2 separate regions of the Homo sapiens genome follow, and region 2 is linked to region 1. The links are contacts of gene promoters, found by promoter capture Hi-C in blood cells and fetal thymus (Javierre and others, 2016). All regions are on one chromosome and are shown on one strand. Each heading gives the region's core, a stretch centred on a gene start or on the middle of the fragment in contact. The rest is flanking DNA. Distances are from core to core; before and after follow the strand shown. Region 1 holds the start of SGK2 (serum/glucocorticoid regulated kinase 2). Region 2 has its middle 79 kb from the start of CHD6.

Region 1 (4,596 bases), core at 1,379-3,878:
GGGGGTGGGAATAGGGCTGGAGCCAGACTAAGGACAGAAAAGTGGGCTGAGGAATGTCAAAGTGAAGGGAATATTTCTGGAGGTAGATTTCCATTGGTTAAGTCTCTTGCTTTTCCCTTATGCCTGAGAACATGACTTTTACCTTCATACCCAAACAACAAAGTCCAGCCAGGGAGGGTGGGAGGGGAAAGAAGGAAGAGAGGAAGATGGGAAGGAGACGCATATCTGCAGTGGCCTATCTACACATATCTGCACGAGTGACCTTGGCTATTTCCTGCAGTATCACTGGGGGGAAGGGCAAGTTCAGCACTGCTGCTAGCCACGTTGGTTGGCACAACTTGTTACAGTCATTTGGTAGAGAGTTCATAATTAACCCAGCACTCACACTTAACAGGAGTTCATCTGTCAGAAATACTAGCGGAAGGCCACAGGATATTAAAGCAGAGATGTTTGCTGCAGCCTTGTTGGAAATATTGTGAAACTGCTAACAGTCAAAATGTCCATCAGAAGGAACAGTAAATAGGGAATAGGGGTTGTGAAAACTCCACACTATGAAGTGTGGTGCAGCTGCTTAAAAGATGTATATATGAAAAAAAGTGAATTACTGATGGCCCATTTTCTGGAAAAAAAATGGATGCAGTTATATAGATTAATACATATAGATTAAGATTAATATACATATAGATTAAGACATAGACAAAAATCTGGAAGGATTGTCACCCTTTTTTTTTTTTTTTTGAGATGGAGTCTTGCTCTGCTGCCCAGGCTGGAGTGCAGTGGCATGATCTTGGCTCACTGAAAGCTGCATCTCCCAGGTTCATGCCATTCTCCTGCCTCAGCCTCCCGAGTAGCTGGGACTACAGGCACTCGCCACCACGCCTGGCTAACTTTTTGTATTTTTAGTAGAGATGGGGTTTCACCATGTTAGCCAGGATGGTCTCGATCTCCTGACCTCGTGATCCACCCACCTCAGCCTCCCAAAGTGCTGGGATTACAGGCATTAGCCATGGCGCCCAGCCGGATTGTCACCCTTTAGTTAACAGCAGCTGCCTCTGGAAATGAGATTGAAGATGGGCTGGAGGGAAAGCTTTTACTTTTTATTTGACATTCTTCTGTAAGTTGGAATTATTTGATACACTTTATGCAACCAATACCAGTATGTGGCGTGTTTGGGGGTTTTTTAAGCAGCTCTGGAAGAGCAGAGGAGAGGGAGCTTGGTGGCACAGCAGCAGCAGCAGCAGGAGCTCTGGAAAGGGCAGGACCTTGTGCGCTGCCCTGATTTGCTCTGTGCACTTGGGCCAGCTACCTCCCCTATCTGGACCAGGGCCAGACACATGCTGCTATGTGTGTTGGTGGAGGTGGGGTGTGTGGCCATGCAGGGCTCCTCCGGAGCACAGCAGAGCAGCCGGTGTTTAAGGCACCAGAATTACCAGAAAGTTGTTGACATTTTAATGGAAAGGCAATGGAGGAAGCAGTGTGAAAGTCAGCCTGCTCAGGAGGGGTCACTGGGCAGAGCTTTCCTTACCTGTCCAGGGGTCCAGGCCCTGCCTGTGCCCTGAGTTAGAACCCAGGGCCGGCCAGGCGCGGTGGCTCACGCCTGTAATCCCAGCACTTTGGGAGGCCGAGGCGGGCAGATCACAAGGTCAGGAGATCGATACCGTCCTGGCTAATGCAGTGAAACCCCATCTCTACTAAAAATACAAAAATTAGCTGGGCGTGGTGGTGGGCGCCTGTAGTCCCAGCTACTCGGGAGGTTGAGGCCGGAGAATGGCGTGAACCTGGGAGGCGGAGCTTGCAGTGAGCTGAGATCACGCCACTGCACTCCAGCCTGGGTGACAGAGCGAGACTCTGTCTCAAAGAAAAAAAAAAAAGAACCCAGGGCCTGGGAAGCTTTGGGTCAACCCCCGAGAAAGCCTTCCCTGTTCTCCAGGGTGAACTCATCTCTGGTTCCTGAGCCTCAAATCTCTGAAGGGCAGAGTGGGGCATAGGTTTCAACTCAGCTGTGATTCTCCCAGAACGGTGCCAGGGCAGTGCTTGGTCGGGTAGGCTGTGGGTGGCAGTCTTCGGCTTAACACAAGAAATTGCCAGAGGCTGGCTCAGGGGGAAATGAGCTGCCCAGTCCTGGAAGTTTCCATGAAATGACTGAACATAGGGGCTGGTGGCCCCCATTAGGGAAGGGGTGGAGGAGGGTGTTGTGTGAGACCAACCTTTCAGTTGCTGGTTCACTAGGTTCCAAGCGAAAGGGAAGATGACTCAGCGGAGGGAATCAGGGAAGGCTGTGTAGGAGTCAGCACTTAAGCTGGACCTTGAGAGAGTGCGGCAGTTCCAGTGTTGAAAGGGACTTCAGAAACCGTCCCTCCAGCAGGACACACCATCCGTCACCAATTCACATGAGGCTCAGGGAGCTGAAGTCAGTTGCCCATGGTCACATAACAAGTTGTGCTTTAAAAAATTCAGAGAGTCCCCCAGGCAGGGCCCATCCAGGAGCCAGTGTGTGCAGCCAGCTTGGTAATTCAGGTCCAGTGGTTAATTAGTAACTGGAAGGCCCCGAAGCCAGCTTCCAGCAGGCAGGGCTGGGAGGTTGAACTTGAGCCGGTTTGGGAGCCAGGAGCGAGTGGGTGACAGGTCATTCCTGACTGGGAAGGTTGCTTGACAAGTCAGGATTGTGCCTCCAGTCAGAAGGACCATGAAGAGAGAGAAGAGGGCAGAGCCGTGCATGGGGCTGCTCCCCAGGACCTGAGCAGGAACCTGGAGTTTTCAGGTGAGAGGCTCACCTGTGAGCAGGATACCTGCCTGCTCGCCTATTGGTCTCCAGATTGACTAGTTACCTAGCTAACATCTTTCCTAGTACCTGTTTACTTTCTTTCCTTCCTTTCTTCCTTGGCGACTTCTTTCCCTTCTCCCTCCTTCCTTTCCTTCCTTCCCTCCCAACTATCTGCTTTCTCAGCTGCCTAATTTTCTTCCTCCTTAACTAACCAACTTACATCCTCACTTCCTTCCCACTGACTTCATTTTTTCCTTTTCTAGCTTTCTATTGTCTTCCTGAAATTCCAGGCCGTGGGCTTTGCAGTCAGATGGCCTGGGTTCAAATCCTGGTTATGTCATTTATTAACTGTCTTGATCATGTCACTTCCCTGTCCTTGCCTCAGTTTTCTCCTCCTTGAAACAGGGACGATGATAGTTCCTAACCCGTGGGGTTGTGGGAACAAAATAAGATCAAGTTGGCACTTGAACTGGGCAGGCGTGTAAATGAACAAGTTACAGTGAAGACAGGGACAGCAGCAGGAGAGGGTGCATGGGATCGGAGGGTCATCTGGCTTCCAGGAAAGGCAATGAGAACAGGTGAAAAGGTGAGCTGGAAAGACCAGGTTTGTTGGGGAATGTTCCAAGGAGAGAGAACTGTGTGACACTGTCCCACCCCCACACCCCATTTGGCAGGGCCAGGGAGCTGTAAGCAGGTCCATGTAACAGTGGGACAGAGGGAGGCAAGTCTGGGCTGTGGCAAGTTAGGAAAGGGACAGGCTTGAGGACTCATGGAGGGGCTTGAGTGGGAGTTTGCGGAGTCTGAAGAGTTAGGAGAATATATTGATGTCCAGCTTCTGGCCAGAAAATTAGAACACCGTGGTGCGAGAGAGAAGAAAGCCTTAGGAACTGAGGGCTGCTTAGGCATGGGGGTCACAGTCAAGGTGATGGGGGAGGGTGTGATGGGCCATGGGCATGCCAGGTTCCCACCAGGAACTCAGTACTTGAATATTAACTCAACAGCAATATCTTGAGAAGCTTTACACAATAGTACAAAGATAAAAGTTAAAATAACCGGCCGGGTACAGTGGCTCACACCCGTAATCCTAACACTTTGGGAGGCCGAGGCAGGCGGATCACCTGAGGTCAGGAGTTTGAGACCAGCCTAGCCAACATGGTGGAACCTCGTCTCGACTAAAAATACAAAAATTAGCCGAGCGTCGTGACACATGCCCGTAATCCCAGCTATTTGGGAGGCTGAGACAGGAGAATTGCTTGAACCCAGGAGGCGGAGGTTGCAGTGAGCAGAGATTGCGCCACTGCACTCCAGCCTGGGCGACAGAGCGAGACTCCATCTCAAAAAAAAAAAAAAAAAGTTAAAATAACCTAACCTAAGAACCCGCTGTGACCTTGGGTCATGACCCTGCAGTCTTTTTTTGGCAGCTGTGCTCACAAATGTGTACGTGCAGACATGTCTTTTGTTTTTCTTTTACAAAATTGGTACCCCTACAACACCTACTATTTTGAAACTTGGTTTTTTGCTTGATATTGTATCACATGTATGTTCCTGTTTTGGTTTATATAGGTTTTATATAGTTTTTGGTTGTGTAATTTTCCACTTTATATATGTACCAACATTTATCAATTCATTTATTGATTCATTAGTCAAATTGTACTGGGCATCTACTATATTCCAGGCCCTGTGCTCAGTGCTGAGGATTCAATAGTTGAACAGGAAGTATTTGCCCTCCTGGAGCTGATGTTCTAGTTGGAGATAGAAAATAAAAACTAATAAATACGTGATAAGGCATCAGTGCTACAAAGTAAAATATAAAGTAGACAAAATGTATAGGG
Region 2 (4,545 bases), core at 1,482-3,981, 1.9 Mb before region 1:
ACTGGCTTTCCTTTTACCAGTCTTGCCTCTTCTTTTCTTTTCTTTTTTTTGAGACAGAGTTTCACTCTTGTTGCCCAGGCTGGAGTGTAGTGGCACAATCTTGGCTCACCGCAACCTCCACCTCCCAGGTTCAAGCGATTCTCCTGCCTCAGCCTCATGAGTAGCTGGGATTATAGGCATGCGCCACCACGTCCGGCTAATTTTGTATTTTTAGTAGAGACGGGGTTTCTCCATGTTGGTCAGGCTGGTCTCAAACTCTTGACCTCAGGTGATCCACCCGCCGGGCCTCCCAAAGTGCTGGGATTACAGGTGTGAGCCACTGCACCCAGCCTAGTCTTGCCTCTTCTAAACCATATCCACACTGGCAGTATAGGAATATTTTCAGTACTCAAATATGATGACTTGACTTTCCTTTAGAGGCTTTGTGTCCCCTACAAGTTTTAGCTCAAACTCCTCAGCACAGTGCTCAGAGACCTTCGTAATTGGATTTACCTCACTTTCCAGTCTTCCTTTTTTGCAAGTTCTGTTATCTCTGCTTGGCATGCCCTCTCCTATGTGCTTGCTGATCAGGCAAACTTCTATTCACACTTTGTCTTGGCTGAAATATCATCACCTCTGTGCTCTCCTTGTGCACTCTCAATTCACTTCTTGTCCCCCTGCTGTGTAACTACTGGTTTGCCTACCAGTCTTTCCCAAGAGACAGTGAGCTCCTCCTCTTGGGGATGTGTTTTCTATCTTTGTATGATGCAGAACACAAGGCCTGGCAGTTGCTCTTTTCTTTCTTTCTTTTCTTTTTTTTTTTTTTTGAGACGGATTCTTGCTCTGTCGCCCAGGCTGGAGTCCAGTGCAATGTCGGCTCACTGCAACCTCCGCCTCCCGGGTTCAAGTGATTCTCCTGCCTCAGCCTCCCAAGTAGCTGGATTACAGGCATGCGCTACCACGCCCAGCTAATTTTTTGTATTTAGTAGAGATGGGGTTTCACCATGTTGGTCAGGCTGGTCTCAAACTCCTGAACTCAGGTGACCCAAAGTGCTGGGATTACAGATGTGAGCCACCACACCTGGCCATTGCTGTTTTCATAACAAATATTCATTAAGAGAATGAGTGGAACAGCTAGCCATGACTAGCCTCCACTTGTCACCTGATGAGAAGGTGACATGTGGTTCTTATCCTTGGCAGAGTGGAAATTAGCATCCAAAAGGACGCAAGAAGAGATGAGTAAAAAATCTACACTTACCCATGAGCCAGATACTGTCTCATCCACTGTCTCATTTAATCTTTGTGACAATCATAGTTCTCAGTTTTTGCTGCTAAGAAAACTGGTGCCCAAAGGCTCTGCCTAAAGATTACCCAACTAGTAATGGAGAACCTCGGTAGGAAATTGGGTCTTTCTGATCTCAAAGGTTGAGCCCCTCAATATTCCTTCTGTTCTTTTTGCCCCATCTGGCACCCGTTACTAGCACAGAAGCCCGGAAAGTTTAAGAAACAACTTCTGTCTCTGGTGTGTCATTTGTACCTCTGAGGACATCAACTTGGAACAGCCATTGTACCAGAGTTCTGTCTTTTCCAGGAATCAGTGACTCATATCAGTCTCTGCTGATATCAGCTGCTGAAGGGCTTAGGAGAACTGGTAGGACTCAGAGGAGCAGAAAATCCAGGAAAGGGCACTCTTGGCCAGTGCTGTTTAATAGAACTCTTTCAGATGAGTAAAATGTTCCATATTTGTGCTTTCCAGTATGGGAATGTCTCAAGTTCCTTTTTAGACAGTATCTCCAGCCCCCTCATTGGTTCCTGACTTCAGGCTGTTTCCAAGACATTCAACTTGAGACTACAGATCCCTGGGCTAGGTCTTCAAGGGCCCTCCAGATCCAAGCTATGCCTCAGTTTTAGCTGAAGTTGTGTCCAAGAACACAGGTCAGGGTACAGGGAGATGGGATACGTATAGCTCCAGACATGGCCAGTGCATTGTTGATATTGCCACCCCAGCAAACTGCCTAGAACTTGGCCCAGAGCAGATGCTAGGTTAACATGGTAGATGAGTGAATTTACTTTCTCTTCCCCAGATTGGGGCTCCCTCACCTACTGCCATTGGCTTCTGGAATCCTTCTCTATCATTGTGAACTGATGACTTGCCACATGGTGAAGATTAACGAAGCCAGTGCTTTGAACCACCACCCTGACATTTTGGGGGTAGGTCAGGGGGGTAGCTACAAAACCAGCTAGTAATAATTCATTGAAAATATGCTGGATCCAGCATTTTTATGTAATGACCTCATTTTTCTTGTGAAACCCTGTGTGCAAAATGAAAGCCCAAATGAGCATCTGCTATATACAGTTAGGAGTAGGGTGGTGCTGGGGAAAGAGGACTGATCTAGGAGTTACCCTGGACCTGGGGCTCATAGGCTGTATGACCTTGAACAAGATGCTCAATGCTTCTGTGCCCCAGTTTTCTCTCAAGTAAAATAAAAACATTGGACTCTAAGCTTCTTTCTACAGTTAATGTGAATGTTTAAAAAATGGCTGGTCACATCTGTGATCAACCTACATTAAGCACCTTTCAAGTGATTACTTGCTTCAATTAGGTCCATTTTCATTGTTTACTTTTACTAACAGTTTTTTTTCTTAACCCTTCCACTTCCAGTGCCTTCCTCATTCTTCACTATTTTTTGATTGTTTCTTCAGATTCTGATAAATCATCTTCATTTCCAGCCATTGAATCACCTGCTCCTTGGCCCTGCCTAGAGGCTCTTTAATCCTCAGCAGTTTCAATTTCCTGACAAAGCACACAGAGGGGGCCCGGTCTCCCTCCTCTTCCCTTGCCCACTACTCACCACTCTCCCATCTAAAACACATCTGAAAAATCAGGGAGGTTTCTATTCTGGCAGTTGTCTCTCTCACCACTAGATGGCACATGCAGGTCATCAGTCTTTTGGGCAAAAACTAATTTTATTGTGTATTTAAACTCCATCTCAATCCACAAAAGCTTTGAGGGGAATTACAAAAGTACAAAATATACAAAAGGATAAGACAAAAAGTTGAGGTAGCTGGAGAAAATAGAAAACAAGTGGAAGAAATAACTCCAGGATGACATTAGCTCAAAAAGATCAACACCAGCAAAGGCTTACACATTTGGCTCCGAGCTTCCAAATGGCCAAAGTAAAGAGGGAAATGTGAGTGGTAATAAAATTCTAGATTTTATGTGAGAAAAACAAATATTTGGGAGAAGCTCAACTTTTCCTGACCCTGAGACCAAAGAGATATTTTTCCCGTGGGTCAGCTGACTGAACAGTGATGCAATACAGCGGTGACTTAATTGGAGCTGTTTCTTATAATGTCCTTTTATGCAGGCCTATGGCATGACGCTCAAGTATAATTGAGGAAAAGCAGTTCTACTGGGCTTAAAACATGAGTTTCCAGGACAGAGTAAATTCACTGTTTGTTGTGGGCCTCCGTAGTTTGAAACAGTGAAATCTGCACACCTCCCTGTTCCAGAGTTTAGGTGGAGTTTGGGGGAGAGGGGGTTCTTCTTGGAGACTGTGGTAAGCAGTTTCTAAGAGGGCCACCAATGATCCTGCCTCCTGGTTTTCAAACCCTATCTGGTCCCCTCCCATGTAGCAGCAGTAATGGTCTGTGTCACCAGCAGAATGCAGGAGAAGCAGGGCCGGGCATAGTGGCTTATGCCTATAATCCCAGCACTTTGGGAGGCCGAGGCAGGAGGATTGCTTGAGCCCAGGAATTAGAGACCAGCCTGGACAACAAAATGAGACCTCGTCTCTACAAAAAATACAAAAACTAGCCAGGCATGGTGGTGTGAGTCTGTAGTCCCAGATACTACGGAGGCTGAGGCGGGATAATTGCTTAAGCCCAGGAGGTTGAGGCTGCAGTGAGCTGTGTTCATGCCATTGCACTCCAGCCTGGGTGACAGAGCAAGACCCTGTCTCGAACAAACAAACAAAAACAAAAACACCCCACCAAAAACAGAATACAGGAGAAATTATGGTATGTCACTTCTCAGATCAGGTTAAAATACATCATAGCTTCTCTCTTGGTCTCTCTGTCTCTGGTTTTGTCTCTCTCTTTCTGTCATGCTAGGGAAAGCCAGGTGCCATGTCATTAGGAGTCTTGAGAGACCCATGTAGTAGAGAACTGAGCCTACTGTCAACAGCCAGTGTCACCTTATTAGTCATGTCAGAGTACCACCTTGGGAGCAGATCCTCCAGCCTCAGTCGAGTCTTCAGAGACTAAATCCCTGGCTAACACCTTAATGGCAAGAAACCTCATGAGAGACCATGAGCCAGGCCATTCAGCTAAGTCACACCTTGGCTCTATGAGATAATAAATGCTTGTTATTTTAAGCTGTTAAGTTTTGGTATAATTTGTTAAGCAACAATAGATGACTAATACAAAGGCCAATAGAAATCCAAGGTTGCATCAAGGATAATTTTACATGGGTAAGTCTACTTGGTTTCAGAGACCAAGAGAATATTTCAGAAGCAACTCAAGTGGGCATTATTTTTAACTTTTAGTTTAATTTAATTTAATTTT

The links. The method cuts DNA at HindIII sites, captures the fragments that hold promoters and counts their contacts. A CHiCAGO score of 5 or more calls a contact.
Region 2: a contact is called between a fragment that was not itself captured here and the fragment with the promoter of SGK2 in region 1, in 1 of 17 cell types (M0 macrophages). The highest score is 7.8, in M0 macrophages.

What each region holds. Positions count from the first base shown.
Region 1 is chr20:43,556,399-43,560,994 of GRCh38, forward strand. SGK2 (serum/glucocorticoid regulated kinase 2) reads left to right here and starts at 2,629. Exons shown (of 13, transcript NM_170693.3): 1 at 2,629-2,761. The HindIII fragment of the contact is 1,890 bases long and covers 1,889-3,778 here.
Region 2 is chr20:41,695,074-41,699,618 of GRCh38, forward strand. No RefSeq gene overlaps it. Among named protein-coding and RNA genes, the nearest start is that of CHD6, 79 kb to the left of the region's middle. RefSeq lists a silencer at 4,137-4,431. The HindIII fragment of the contact is 500 bases long and covers 2,482-2,981 here.